Regions from separate parts of the Homo sapiens genome. Here region 2 is linked to region 1. The links are contacts of gene promoters, found by promoter capture Hi-C in human tissues and cell types (Jung and others, 2019). All regions are on one chromosome and are shown on one strand. The core of a region is centred on a gene start or on the middle of the fragment in contact, and the rest is flanking DNA. Distances in the headings are between cores, read along the strand shown.

The links. The method cuts DNA at HindIII sites, captures the fragments that hold promoters and counts their contacts. A contact is called where the count stands out against the background at its distance.
Region 2: a contact is called between a fragment that was not itself captured here and the fragment with the promoter of ZP4 in region 1, in 1 of the 25 tissues and cell types used here (hippocampus).

Annotation. Positions count from the first base shown.
Region 1 is chr1:237,886,531-237,894,459 of GRCh38, reverse strand. It overlaps ZP4 (zona pellucida glycoprotein 4), which reads left to right and starts at 3,538. Exons shown (of 12, transcript NM_021186.5): 1 at 3,538-3,999; 2 at 4,284-4,405; 3 at 4,491-4,593; 4 at 5,950-6,102; 5 at 6,899-7,086; 6 at 7,592-7,689. The coding sequence starts at 3,825. It also overlaps the pseudogene LOC100130331. The HindIII fragment of the contact is 12,268 bases long and covers 1-7,929 here.
Region 2 is chr1:238,422,143-238,430,071 of GRCh38, reverse strand. LOC105373220 (a long non-coding RNA gene) reads right to left here. Exons shown (of 5, transcript XR_949308.3): 4 at 4,561-4,634. Among named protein-coding and RNA genes, the nearest start is that of LINC01139, 60 kb to the left of the region's middle. The HindIII fragment of the contact is 4,403 bases long and covers 1,113-5,515 here.

The sequences.
Region 1 (7,929 bases), core at 2,289-4,788:
TCTTGCTTGTTGAAAAGGAAAACCATGTAAGTACTTACAGTAAATTAAGTTTGACATCTTCCTTCAGAAGAGAAGTGTCCTAATTTCCACCACATGCAGAGAGCAGCTGGATGCACCATCCTTGCTCCCTAATTACTGATTAACACAACAATGGTCTAATCATCCCTCCATATTTGAGGGATAATTTTGATTATTGCTTCTCCACACTTGAAGTGGGCTTCCTGGGGCCTTGTTTGAGTGGTACTTCACTCTCCAGTTAGGAGGACCCTGCTCCAGTCACAGCGGGGCAATCACTGTTAATGTCAGATGAGGAGTCTGTACTCAATGGCCAGAAAGCATTGTACTACAGCTCCATGCTATCCAAACCTTGTGGGGTGATGTCCCTATTCTGCAGTTTAAAATGAAACACTCAAATGTAAATATGACCAGATTGAAGAAGGTTTTTGGAAATCACCGTTTGCCTTTCCCCAATCACACAGGTTGCCCTCATGACCTGAGTGGCCAGATCACTGAATGAGGAATGGGCAGCTTCAGTGAATGAGGAATGGGCAGCTTAGCTTCAGTGCAGGACTCCCAAGTACTTTGGTAAGGAACACAAGGGGAATCCTTAAGCCCGCCTATAAAATGTGGGTTGCATGAATACTACCATGACTATGGGGCTTTTGATAAGTCTGTACACATTAGGATGCCTCATAATCTGTTCGTAATGGCTCTGAAACAATTTTTAAATGACTGGGTGATTCTGACATAAGACAAAGAACAGCATTTGCCCTTTCACATTCAAAGGACAGAGCATTCATGTTGTGATAATAGTGGATAGGATGTTTTTTCTGTTAAGCCTGGGGCTCCTCGAGGTGGATCACACATTATCAGTGCATTTTCTCATCCCGAAATTAAATGATGATGTTCTTGGAAGATTCAGCAGAGGAATGAGCATAACATTACCTAACCCCAGACCTGCCTGCATTATCTTGGCATCCATCTTTGACCCTCTGCAGCATCAGAGAGATGGGTGTGATCCTAGGTGGACTTCAAGATAGCTCCACATAGTTCCAGGCTTGTGTGATTTTTCAACTTCATTATGTAAACACAGGACCTCATTTGGGAATGCAGCCTCATGAGTATAGGCTGTTCCTCAGACTCCCTGCAGATCCAATGAGTGCACTGCTTGGCATTTGCTTTCCATTTGCCACCCATCTCACCTTTATCTCCCAGGCTGGTCCTGTTGATGTTAGTGACAATGTAGCAATTATGCAACAAGCATTGTACATACATTATTTCATCTAACCGTCTGTTGTAATAATACTGTCCATGTTATTATCCCTATTTTACAGATATAAAAACTGTAACTGAGAGAAAGAGGTTAATACATTGACAGAGGTTGCAGAGTAACAGTCAGAATTTGTACCCAAGTCCACCCATTGTCAAAACTCACATGATATACTATACTATATTGCCTCCAAGTATGAGCAAAGGAAGTTACGCTCCTTGACTTTTCACCACTTTATAAAGCTGTTGGGAACAGGCCCCCCAAAATCTGGCCATAAGCTGGCCCCAAAACTGGCCATAAACAAAATCTCTGCAGCACTGTGACATGTTCGTGATGGTCGTGATGGCCATGATGCCCACGCTGCAAGGTTATGGGTCTACCGGAATAAGGGCAAGGAACCCCAGACCCACCCAGGATGGAAAACCGCTTAAAAGTGTTCTTAAACCACAAATAGCATGAGTGATCTGTGCCTTAAGGACATGCTCCTGCTGCAGATAACTAGCCAGAGCTCATCCCTTTATTTCAGCCCATCCCTTTGTTTCCCATAAGGAAGACTTTTAGTTAATCTATAATCTATAGAAACAATGCTTATCACTGGCTTGCTGTCAGTAAATATGTGGGTAAATCTCTGTTCGAGGCTCTCAGCTCTGAAGGCTGTGAGACCCCTGATTTCCCACTCTACACCTCTATATTTGTGTGTGTGTGTGTGTCTTTATTCCTCTAGCATCCCTGGGTTAGGGTCTCCCCGACTGAGCTGGTCTCAGCATAAAGCAATATTAGTAAGTCTAGTCAGGAGACTGGCCTTTTAACTCCTGAGACATCTTGCATGAGTCAAATCCTCAGATTCTTTCTTACATGTGCAATCACATGATATTTACTTGAAGGAAAAATACCTAAGGGTTATGAGTTTGAGCTCATCATAAAGGAAATGAATTTGTACCGGTGAGGTTTGGAAACTACATTTTCAAGGGGGTTAGCCCTAGGACATGGCCACTAATGAAAGCATATTCATTGATTCAGTCTTTACTCAGAGAACACTGAGTACATACATCCAAGGCACGCAGGATGCAGTGACAAATAAAAAAGTCCCTGGCCTCACGTGCTTCTAGTGGCAAACTGAATAAGAAAGAGGTCATTACAATCCAACCTGGCAAATCCTGTGAGTAAATGGCATGTAATAACCCAGTGGTGAGCACCTAATCCAGGTAGACGGTGTCAGGGAAGCCACATCTGTCTTTGAGGGCAGAGTCCAGCTTTCCTTCAATGTCATTTTTCATCATGTGGTTAAAAGGGCCACCAATTTTCCCAGGAAGACACATACTTATTTGTCCTCTGTGATGAGTTGAAGAGAACTAGAGATACCTAGTTACACATTCTCAGTGCTTTGACTACAATTTTTAGTCAACCGAAAAATATCAGTCTAAATACAATCAGGGTACAATTTGGGAATATTGGTGGCAGACTGCAGAAGACAAGTTTCCATGCTCTTGCCTCTCCAGTGGGGAATGTATCCATTTATCCCCAAATCTCTTAGAATTTCTCTACAATCTGGTCTGACACTCTAGCTTAAAGAGTGACCAAAGTATATAACTTGTAGTTTATGTGGAAAACAAAAATGTAGAAAGCAAGCAAGAAACCCTGACATCTTTATGAAATATGCCTGAAACACAGCCGAAAGATAAAATTGTCAAATAGCTGTAAGAGGCAGAACCAGTTTGAGGAATTCATGGCCTAATCCACATTTCCCCCAGATCCTGTGGGGAAACACTGTAGGACAGTTATGGCAATGAACCACTTTGGAATTTGTTGAAAGATTGCTGTGGTAGGATTCCCTCTAAGGACCAGGAAAGGGTTCAAAATCAACCTTTCTCAGGAAATAAGTTTAGATTTTTTTCTAGAATTTCAAGACAGGCTCTAATCGTACAGAAACTTTTCTAGAATGGATGGAGAAGGTGACAAGGCTTCTCAAGGGCCCCAACTCTCACCCGACAATGTTGACTGAGCACTCACTGCTTGGCCAAGCACTGTGCCAGGCACCTGACATAGAATCTCTTGCTTAATCCTCAAGCACACCACTGCCAGGAGATAGCATTCCCATTTTACAGATGAGAAAACCAAGATTCAGAGAGTTTGTAACGTACCCAGACCCCATAGTTCATAGATGGTAGTTTCACACCCAAATGTGCAAAATTCTAGAGGGAGGTCTTCTGAAGTCAATAAGTTCAATAAACTGGTGGGACAAATGCTATGTTGAGCAACCCTGAGGAAGCTTTCTTTCCTTCCTTTCTGTTAGCTAAAAGTTACTACATTTTTCTTGGGCTCTGAAGTCTGCCTGGATTGTGGTATTTAATGTGAGGCAGCTGCAGACTGTGCCCCAAAGCAAATGAGGCTAGAGGAATTCCCCTTTCTGAAGGCATCCCACCTGAGTGTCACAAAGATGTGCAGCTGAAAACAAGCCTGACTTCTGTATATAAAGGAATCTGGGCAGGCAGACCCTCGGCTCTTGGGAGAGGAGGCGGAGAGTCTGCAGCCGGCAGGAACTCCTGGTAGCATTATGTGGCTGCTGCGGTGCGTTTTGCTGTGTGTTTCATTATCTCTTGCTGTGAGTGGCCAGCATAAGCCTGAGGCACCAGATTATTCCAGTGTGCTCCACTGTGGGCCGTGGAGCTTCCAGTTTGCTGTAAACCTCAACCAGGAGGCAACGTCTCCTCCTGTACTAATAGCTTGGGGTAAGTTTGATGACTTGCCTTGCTTAGCCAAGCAATGATATGTCTCCTCTACTACCTAAGATGTCTCCCTATCTTCCCGTATTGATACTTTCACCTTCTGAGCCCTGTTGCATCTTTCTGCAAAAGAAATAGTCTAAGTTATAACTACATCTGATCTGAATCTGATTTCCCTCTTGTTCCTCTTATTGACAGTTGCTCCTTGGGGTCTAATGGCAAGGCTGACTATCCTTTCTGGCACTGGAGACTGACCGCTGTGTTTTCTCACCTCTTCCCCACCCCTCCAGACAACCAAGGGCTGCTGCACGAGCTGCAGAATGACTCCGACTGTGGCACCTGGATAAGAAAAGGTCCAGGCAGCTCCGTGGTGTTGGAGGCAACCTATAGCAGCTGCTATGTCACTGAGTGGGTGAGTATGACCCAATGGCCAGGGAGACTGTGTGAAGCGCCTCATGCTACCATCCAGGCTGACCCCCAAGGGCCTGTCTCTCCAGGACTCCCACTACATCATGCCAGTTGGAGTTGAAGGAGCAGGCGCGGCTGAACACAAGGTGGTTACAGAGAGGAAGCTGCTCAAGTGTCCTATGGATCTTCTAGGTAAAGGCTGGAAGCTCTCAGGGTCTTGTGGGGGTGGTGGGGGTGGGGTGTGAAAGTACTCTTGGTCCTCTCTGACCTGCTCTGTGCAGTGACACCTGACACTAATGAAGGAAGGATCATGTCCCAACTCTCACCTCCATGGGCAATCCTTAGGATAACTACCAATTGAGACTCCTCAATGCCAAGGCACTGTGGGTAAGCACTTCAGGTGTTACCTTCCCTAACCCTAACATAGTGCTGCAAATACTACTGCTGGCCAGGCACAGTGGCTCACACCTGTAATCACAGCACTTTGGGAGGCTGAGGCAGGTGGATCAGGTCGGGAGTTGGAGTCCAGCCTGACCAACATGGAGAAACCCCATCTCTACTAAAAACACACAATCAGCCGGGTGTGGTGGTACATGCCTGTAATCCCAGCTACTCGGGAGGCTGAGGCAGGAGAATCGCTTGAACCTGGGAGGCTGAGGTTGTGGTGAGCTGAGATCGTGCCCTTGCACTACAGCCTGGGCAACAAGAGCGAAACCCTGTCTCAAAAAAAAAAAAAAAAAAAATACAACCTATCTCTTGCCAGGAAGTTTTCCCAAGGGCCTATCACTGGTGAATGACTGAGCTGGGATTCAAAGAACTCTCCCAGAACCAGGAGCTTTTCACCCATGGGGAGAATGATAGGAAATAAAACTGAAGCTAGCAAGGGAACTTGGAAAAATACCTCCACAGAGCTAGATGTGCACTGAGACTAGGACCCAGGTCTTCCATCCCACAAGCTGGAGGGGTATCTGAGCATTTCCCTAAGGAAACAGCAGGAAGTATGATGCCTACTCAACTTTAGAAAGTCTCGCCTGACTGAGAGCCCGTCCTCAAAGTCAGAACAGACTCAAACTATAAATTCACTCTTCTCACCTGCCTTCCTTCCCAATACATAGCCAGGATGGGCAGCACTAATAAAATGAGGAATCATAGGCCCCACCCCAGTTCTGAACCAGACCTGAACTCAAAAACAATCTTCAGATAACTCATATCCAAACTAAGGCTTGAGAAACGCCTCTAAAGAACAGAAGGAAGGATTGTTACTGGAAGGAGTAAGAAACCCCCCAACTGCTTCTACCAATTTTGTTGACATTCTTGTTTTTAAAAAACTAATAGCAGGGCACTCTTACAAGGTGACTTAATGTTGACAACCTCCCAAGACTTAATCTACAACATGTAACCTCTCAATACTATCTACAATATGGAGTAGACACCTATTTCAATCATCTACATATCTACAGGAATCCAAAGTCAATGACTTGTATCAAAATGGTATTCAAGACTAACTTTTCCATTATCTAACCTGACTTACTCTTTTTCAAAACCTAGCCCGAGATGCTCCAGATACTGACTGGTGTGACTCCATCCCAGCACGGGACAGACTGCCATGTGCACCTTCACCCATCTCTCGAGGAGACTGTGAAGGGCTAGGCTGTTGTTATAGCTCTGAAGAGGTGAATTCCTGCTACTATGGAAACACTGGTGAGTAAGTGAGCACACCTCTGAAACCAGCTGAGGAAGTGTGGCAATTACAATGAAACCCAGAGAGGGGTTTGCTCAGAAGGCAAACATCAAGTGATAGCAGGCTGCCATGTAGCCATGCATCCAAGAACACTTGATCCCAATGTAACAGACTTCTACAACTCCCACTGTCCATTCTCCCAGAATCCAGATATAAAGTCAATAACGCTCAGACTTGAAGGCTATGTGCCAGATAATTGCTAGTGCCAGATAACTTCTAACTGACAGAAACTTATAGCGACTTTGGCTGATGGTCTTGGATTGTTTAGGGAGAGTCACTTCAAGGCTGTTGCTTTCTGCTTGTCTCTAATCCTGCTCTGAGGTTTTCTAACATAAACTTGACCTCAGAGTATGTATAGGTTGGTACAGGAGGAATCCCGGCTTTTGCCATTGTGGCAAAGGCTGCAATTACTTCTCTACCAACCTAATAATCGCACACGCTATTCCAAGATCTTAATCTTAACTGACAAGCAAAATGAGGTAGGAACTACTATCCCCCTCTTAACACATGAAACTGAAGCAAGGAGGTGCAATACTTGCCTGAGGTCACACAATAAGTCAGGGAGGCAAGACTCAACCCCAGATCATTTAGAGCCTGGGTTAAACTGTGGTTGGTTGATCTTGCACTGAGGTTGTCACTGGGAAGTTGTCACCAGCTTCTCAGTGGGATTAAAAGTAACTAAGTGGTTAGACTTTCATCTGGTTCTCCCCACAATGGGAGAGATGACCTGCCTTCAGCACAGCTGCTCTGTTTCAGTGACCTTGCATTGTACCCGAGAGGGCCATTTCTCTATTGCTGTGTCTCGGAACGTGACCTCGCCACCACTGCTCTTGGATTCTGTGCGCTTGGCCCTTAGGAATGACAGTGCGTGTAACCCTGTGATGGCAACACAAGCTTTTGTTCTGTTCCAGTTTCCATTTACTTCCTGTGGCACCACAAGACAGGTGAGCAGTTGGGCTTTGTTCCTGGCTCTGGAAGTTGGGTGGGAAGGTTGTAGTGACTAGTGGGGGAGAGCTGAAATATGTTGGCCGTGAACGATACTTGTGACTACTACTTGGAGTTTGGGAGAGTCCCTAGGGCAGGAGAATGCCTCATCACTGAAAAAGTTAATCTCTTCTGGGTGTTCAGCTAAGACCATCACAGCTGTGATCTAGCTAAGGGGCTGTCATTTACCGTGCTATAGAGAAGAAACCAGCAGGGATGCTGACTGGAATTGGTAGTGCTTCAGCTGCCTCTCCTAGGTGCTCAAATTCCTTCTTATTCCTTTGTCCTGAGATAAGGCGAAGTGATAACTTGCCAGGATGTCACTGCTATGTGTTCTTACCTCTGCTGAAGTAATAGGAAATATACCATACAACAGGGTAGCATTGCTGAGGGCTTAGACCAGATGCAAGTCAAGCAGCATAACACTAACAGAAATGATCAAGACTTCTCCATCTATTCCTGTAGATCACTGGAGACCGAGCAGTATATGAAAATGAACTGGTGGCAACTAGGGATGTGAAAAATGGGAGCCGTGGCTCTGTCACTCGTGACAGCATCTTCAGGTAAGGGCTTGGCCAGAATGACTTCCCATCTGCCATAAGGTGGGCATTCTCAGGTAAGCCCTGAATCCACAAATGAGCATTCCTCAGCAATAGGAGAAAACCTGTCTGCTACCTTGGTTCACCAATTGCACTGCCCATTACTTGATTAGGTCCATCTGTGTTGCTGTCTCCAACCCGACCTAAGCCTCAAGCTCACCTGGAGTTCTGCTATTTCACTTAACTAGATTTTTTTCTCATTTT
Region 2 (7,929 bases), core at 2,065-4,564, 540 kb before region 1:
GAATAAAACTAGAAATGAACTCCAAAAGGAACTTTCAAAACGATGCAAATATATGGGAATTAAATAACCTGCTCCTGAATGAGCATTCAGTCAAAAACAAGATCAAGATGGAAATTAAAAAATTCTTTGAACTGAACAATAATGACACAACCTATCCAAACCTCTGGGAGGCAGCAAAGACGGTGCTAACAGGAAAGTTCATGGCCCTAAACACCTACATCAAAAAGACTGAAAGAGCACAAACTGACATGCTAAGGTCACACTTCAAGGAACTAGAGAAATAAGAACAAACCAAACCTAAATAAACCCAGCAGAAGAAAGGAAATAACCAAGATCAGAGCAGAAGTAAATGAAATTAAAACAAAAAAAATACGACAGATAAATGAAACAAAAAGCTGGTTTTTAGAAAAGATAAATAAAATTAATAGACTATTAGCAAGATTAACCAAGAAAAGAAGAGAGAAAATCCAAATAACCTCATTAAGAAATGAAACAGTAGGTATTACAACTGACACCACTGAAATACAAAAGATCATTCAAGGCAACTATGAACACCTTTACCCACATAAATCAGAAAACCTAGAAGAGATGGATAAACTCCTGGAAAAATACAACCCTCCTAGTTTAAATTAGGAAGAATTAGGTACTCCTGAACGGATCAATAACAAGCAGGGAGATTGAAATCGTAACTTAAAAATTACCAACAAAAAAAGTCCAGTACCAGACAGATTCACAGCAGAATTCTACCAGACATTCAAAGAAGAATTGGTACCAATCCTTTTGACGCTATTCCACAAGATAGGGAAAGAAAGAACCCTCCCTAATTATTTCTATGAAGCCAGCATCACCCAAAAACCAAAACCAGGAAAGGACATAACCAAAAAAGAAAACTACAGACCAATATTCTTGATGAACCTAGATGCTAAAATCCTTAATAAAATACTAGCTAACCAAATACAACAACATATCAGAAAGATAATCCACTCTGATCAAGTGGGAAGTGGGTTTCATACCAGGGATGCAGGGATGGTTTAACATACACAAGTCAATAAATGTAATACACCACATAAACATAATTAAAAATAAAAATCACATGATCATCTCAATAGATGCAGAAAAAGCATTCAACAAAATCCAGCATCCTTTATGATTAAATCTGTCAGCAAAATCAGCATACAAGGGACACACCTCAATGTAATAAAAGCCATCTACGACAAACCCACAGCCAACATAATACCGAATAGGGAAAAGTCGAAAGCATTCCCTCTGAGAACTGGGAACAAGACAAGGATGCCCATTCTCACCACTCTTATTCAACATAGTACTGGAAGTCCTAGCCAGAGCAATTGGACAAGAGAAAGAAATAAGGGCATCCAAATCAGTGAAGAGGAAGTCAAACTGTCACTGTTTGCTGACGATATGATCGTTTACCTTGAAAACCCCAAGGACTCCTCCAGAAAACTCCTAGAACTGATTAAAAAATTCAGCAGTTTCTAAATACAAGATTAATGTACACAAATTAGTAGCTATTCTATACACCAGCAGTGACCAAATGGAGAATCAAATCAAGAACTCAACCCCTTTTACAATAGCTGCAAAAAAAAAATTAATAAAATATTTAGGAATATACCTAACCAACAAGGCTAAAGACCTCTACAAGGAAAACTACAAAACACTGCTGAAAGAAATCATAGATGACACAAACAAATGGAAACACATCCCATGCTCATAGATGGGTGGAATCAATATTGTGAAAATGACCATACTGCCAAAAGCAGTATATAAGTTCAGTGCAATCCCCATCAAAATACAGCCATCATTTTTCACAGAATTAGAAAAAAAAATTGTTAAATTCATATGAAACCAAAAAAAAAAACCCCAAATAGCCAAGGCAATACTAAGCAAAAAGAAATCTGGAGGCATCACACTACCTGATTTCAAACTATACTATAAGGCCTTTGTCACCAAAACAGCATGGTATTGGTATAAAAATAGGCATATAGACCAATGGAGCAGAATAGAGAACATAGAAATAAAGCCAAATACTTACAGCCAAGTGATCTTTGACAAAGCAAACAAAAACATGAAGTGGGGAAAGGACACCCTATTCAACAAATGGTGCTGGGATAATTGGCAAGACACTGTAGGAGAATGAAACTGGATCCCCATCTCTAACCTTATACAAAAATCAACTCAAGATGGATTAAGGACTTAAACCTAAGACCTAAAACTGTAAAAGTTCTAGAAGATAACATTGGAAAAACCCTTCTAGACATTGGCTTAGGCAAGGACTTCATGACCAAGAACCCAAAAGCAAATGCAATAAAAACAAAGATAAATAGTTGGGACTTAATTAAACTAAAGAGCTTTTGCACAGCAAAAAGAACAGTCAGCAGAGGAAACAGATCTACAGAGTGGGAGAAAATCTTCACAATCTGTACGTCTGACAAATGACTAATATCCAGAATCTACAATGAACTTAAACAAATCAGTAAGAAAAAAACAAACAATCCCATCAAAAAGTGGGCTAAGGACATGAATAGACAATTCTCAAAAGAAGATATACAAATGGCCAACAAACATATGGAAAAATAATCAACATCACTAATGATTAGGGAGATGCAAATCAAAACCACAATGTGATACCATCTCACTCCTGCAAGAACGGCCAAAATCAAAAAATCAAAAAACAGTAGATGTTGGCATGGATGTGGTGAACAGGGAACACTTCTACACTGCTGGTGGGAATGTAAACTAGTACAACCACTAAGGAAAACAGTGTGGAGATTCCTTAAAGTGCTAAAAGTAGAACTACCATTTGATCCAGCCATCCCACTACTGGGTATCTACCCAGAGAAAAAGAAGTCATTATATAAAAAAGATACTTGCAGAAGCATGTTTATAGCAGCACAATTCACAATTGCAAAATTGTGGAACCAACCCAAATGCCCATTAATCGACGAGTGGATAAAGAAACTGTGTTATATTTATATATTGGAATACTAATCAGCCATAAAAAGGAATGAATTAACAGCATTTGCATCGACCCGGATAAGATTGGATACTATTATTCTAAGTGAAGTAACTCAGGAATGGAAAACCAAACATTGTTTGTTCTCACTGATGTGTGGGTGTTGAGCTATGAGGACGCAAAGGCATAAGAATGATACAATGGACTTTGGGGACTTGGGGAGAAGGGTGGGGGGGGCGATGGATAAAAGACTAAATAATATGGTGCAGTGTATACTGCTTGGGTGATGGGTGCACCAAAATCTCACAAATCACCACTAAAGAACTTACTCATGTAACCAAATACCACCTGTACCCCAAAACATGCAAAAATAAAGAAAATAAATAAATATCAAAAAAAAGTGCATTCATAAAACAAAAAAAGCCAGAGGTATAAAAAAATGCTCATTATCATTGACCATCAGGGAAAAGCAAGTTAAAACCACATCTGTTAGAATGGGCATTAATTAAAAAATGAAATGTAACAAGGGTTGGCAATGGTATGGAGAAAAGGGAACCCTTGTATACTGTCGGTGGGAATGTAAATGAACAAAGCCATAGGATGAAGGCTCCTCAGCCAACTACAAATAGAATTACTGCACAATCCAGTAATCCTGCTACTGGGTGTTTATCCAAAGGAATATACATCAAATCAGTATGCCAAAGAGATAACTGAACTCCTGTGGTCATTGCAATGTTATTCACAATAGCTAAGATATGGATGCAACCTAGGTGTCTATCATCAAATGAATGGATAAAGAAAATGTAGCATATATACACAATGGAATACTAGTTAGCATTGGAAAGGGGGAAAACCCTGTCTTTTGGGATAACATAGATGAACCCGGAGGTGAAATAGGCCAGGCACAGAAAGACAAATACTGCATGATCTTTCTCATATGTGAAATCTAAAAAAGTTGAACTCACACAAATAGGGAGTATAATGATGGTTACCAGAGGCTGGGGGAGAAGAATCAATGAGGAAGGGGAAGATGTTTATTAAAGGGTACAAAGTTTCAGTTAGTGAGGAGGAATAAGCTTTGGTGATCTATTTTACAGAATGGTGATTACTATAAATAATAATATGCTGCATATTTCAAAATTGCTGAAAGAGTAGACTTTAAATGTTTTCACTATAAAAAAGTAATGTTTGTGAAGTGATTAATTTGTTAATTAGCCAGATTTAATCTTTCCACATTGTAAACCCATATCTAATCATCACATTATACCCCATAAATATAGCTCATTATTATTTATCATTAAAAATAAAGTTTAAAAAATTAAATAAACCACAAAAGAACAAAAAGAGAAGAACTATGAAGTAGGAATTGATGTCTAGCAGAGGCAGGCTCATAGTCATTCAAACTAGAGCTTAATTCACCTGGAAAAAATACATAAATACCTTCTGCGGAATGCTTTCTCAAGAAAAGGCATTTACTTGTAATATTTTAAAACCAAAATGCTGAAAAGGTTCATGATTCTCACTCAGAAGTTCACTCAATATCCCCTTAAACCAGGACTCCAGAGTCCTTGATAATTACAATTACTCACCATCTGAAAACACTGGCATTGAATAGTCCTAAACCAAGTTTATTCTTCCTCATTTGAGTCACAAGGAAAACAACCTAAAAAGATGGAAACTATGAAGATATCACAAATTTTTTACAATGGTAAATGAAAATCTTCTTCATATCAAAAAGTTTATGTTACATTTGTTATATACTACATATTATGAGAAAACACTATTGTCCTCACCTAATTTTGATTTCCACTTTTGGTTTCTGCATTAAAATATAAAAGCTGCTCCCCAGAGAAGTTTTCTGAAGACTATTGATGACTTATATCAAGACAATTAATTGACTAATGCTTTAGTGACTCACTAGCATTAGGAAAGAGGTAGCTAGTTTGTATTTCCTCTTGGTCCTGTGAGCCCCTCATATTCACTGTTTTTACTCTCTTCTTTCCTTCCATTATTTGTCGGATATACAGATCATGCATGGGACTCAAAATACAGATGCATCTTTACACTTCTTTCTATAAAACTAGGGCAATTTCATGCCTCAAATTTGAATGAAAATTCAAAATATAATTTCAAGATTTTTTTCACATGTAAGTTATATTACAGTTAGCAGCAATATGGAGTTGGCACAATGATAATAAGTGTGTCAATGAAAGAGATGAATTCAATGATAGGCTCTCATATTTATGATCAATTGATTTTGACAAAAATGTCAAGGTAGTTCCAGGGGCAAACTATAGCTTTTTCAATAAATAGCATTGGAACACCTTGATAACCATATAGGACAAAATAAGTATTGACCCTTATCTCCTATCATGCACAAAAAATAACTAGACATTGATCACAGACCAAACACTGAAGGTTAAAAATATGAAGCCTTGGCCAGGCATGGTGGCTTACGCCTGTAATCCCAGCACTTTGGGAGGCCAAGGCGGGCAGATCATGAGGTCAGGAGATCGAGACCATCCTGGCCAACATGGTGAAACCCTGTCTCTACTAAAAATACAAAAATTAGCTGGGTGTAGTAGTGCGCACCTGTAATCCCAGCTACTCGGGAGGTTGAGGCAGGAGAAACGCTCGAACCCATGAGGTGGAGATTGCAGTTAGAAGAGAGCACAGCAGAAATTTTATGAACACAGGTAAGCAAAATTTTCTTAGAATATAAAAAGCACTAACCATAAAAGACTTTATCAAAATTTAAAATTTCAGCTCTTCAAGACACACAATATATGGTAAATATATTCTTCCATTCCATGAATTGCCTTTTCATATATATATATGTGTGTGTGTGTGTGTGTGTATGTATATATGTACATACATATTGTAGTCAGGATTTATCATTAACTTCTAAAAATAAATAAGAAGACACAACTCAATATAATCAACAATCAAATACTTGAACAGACACTGCACAAGAGAAATTCTGAAAAGACTTCATTACTCATAGTGTAAAACCACAATGAGATATCGTGAAACATACACATATCCAGTAATTCCAATCTTAGCATTTACCCATGAAAAATGAAAACATATGCCCACAAAGAGAAACTTTATTTAAATGATCATGAACTAGAAATAACTCAAATGTCCATCAATATTTTAATGAATAAACTAACTTTGGTGTAGGTTACTTAGCAATAAAACAATGACCTATTGATGCACCCAACAACGTGGATGATGACTGGAAACATTAGAGCAAAAGAATCCAATACAAAAGAGAACATGCTTATAAAATCTATATGTATGAAGTTCTGGGATACACACAGCTAAGCTATGGAGAAAAAAACTAGAACAGTAATGACCTCTATGTATGGAGTAGAGAAACTGACTAGAAGGTGGGCATGAGAGAATCTTCTGGAATGAACAAAATGGTTTATATCTTTATTGTCAGATGGTTACAAGAGTGTACGTACAATCATTGCATGGTACTCTTAAAGTCTCTGTACTGTTGCATGAGAATTTCACATCAATTTAAGAAAAATGCAAAAATTTTGCAAAAGGTTTTATTGATTTTAGAGGTTTTGCTTTTTTTCTCTTTCAAATGAAGTGTTTATATGCACCATCCATATTTATATCTGAAAGCCAAAAATTCCTTCCTATAGTTTTTTTGTCATTACATTTTTGTTGAAAGCAATAAAAATATACTATTGTTGCATGAGATTTGACAGTACAGATGTATATTTATAGTGAAGAAAGCAAGAATACCATTGCACTTCCAAAGAGAATGGGTTACTATGGGGGACTTGTTGCTGCTCTGGCAAGGCCATTTATGGCTGCAGTGTTTGGTGCTGTCTCCAGAAACCATGGTACGTCCTTCAGAATTTTTCATCCAGAAATGGAATTGTGTCAGTGTTCTAAGAGGAGCTCATGCCCTTAGGAAGTGGCACTTGCTAATGAAACCCACTAGAGATGGTGTAAAAATCCATGTTTTATTTTGTATTATATCTGGAAAAGCTTCATACGAATACAGTTACTTATGATCATGGTGTCCAAAACAAAGGGAATTGGGTGACAGCAAAGGATGTTTTATTCAGAGATGGCTAATAAAAATAGAGATTTTAATCCTGGGAAATACAATTTAAATAAAATTATCTAGGCATGGTGGTGCATGCCTGTAGTTCCAGCTACTCTGGGGCTGAGGTGGGAGGCTCACTTGAGACCAGGAGGTCGAGGCTGCAGTGCGTCATAATCGTACCACTGCACTCCAACCTGGGTGGCAGAGCAAGACCCTGTTTCAAAAATTGCAACCCAAAAATAGAGATTATGTTCATGCCTTCTCGTTACCATACCTATCTTTTGAGCCACATATGTTTACTATGACAAAAATTTTTACACTTTTAATATTATGTACCACAAAGATTATTTTAAAAGTTTTGTCAGATTATAATTTGTTGATTTAAGCTTGATTTCATGCTAAAAAAAACAAAAGCATTAAAAAACTGCTATTTGTATGCAGTTGTATCCTGTCCACTTCACGGAACACCCCAAGCAAGAACACTGTTTGGAAAACCTGGAACACCAGAGAGTGAGAAAGGCAGAGGGAGGTGTCTATCTGTTGGTGCTTCAGAAAGGTCAATGGAAGATAAATGTCAACATTTAATTATTCATTATTTTATAAAATAGAAAATGCTCAGATTTTTATTTTAAATAGGAAAGGGAAATTTGAAGCCTTCAGATCTCTAGTGCCTGAGGGGAGCAATTAAACTTGCCTGTGCTTTGTGAGTAAGTGTGTTGCTTGAAGCAAAGCTCCCGGCATGACTGCTCTGGGAGTGTACAGGAGCGAAGAGTGTTCTCTTCTTTTACAACTTTTTTGGATTTTTTTTCTTAATATCATCTCTTGAAGGTCACAGAGACCAATATTTGATATATTTAATAGATGCATGTATGTACTTTCCAGACTG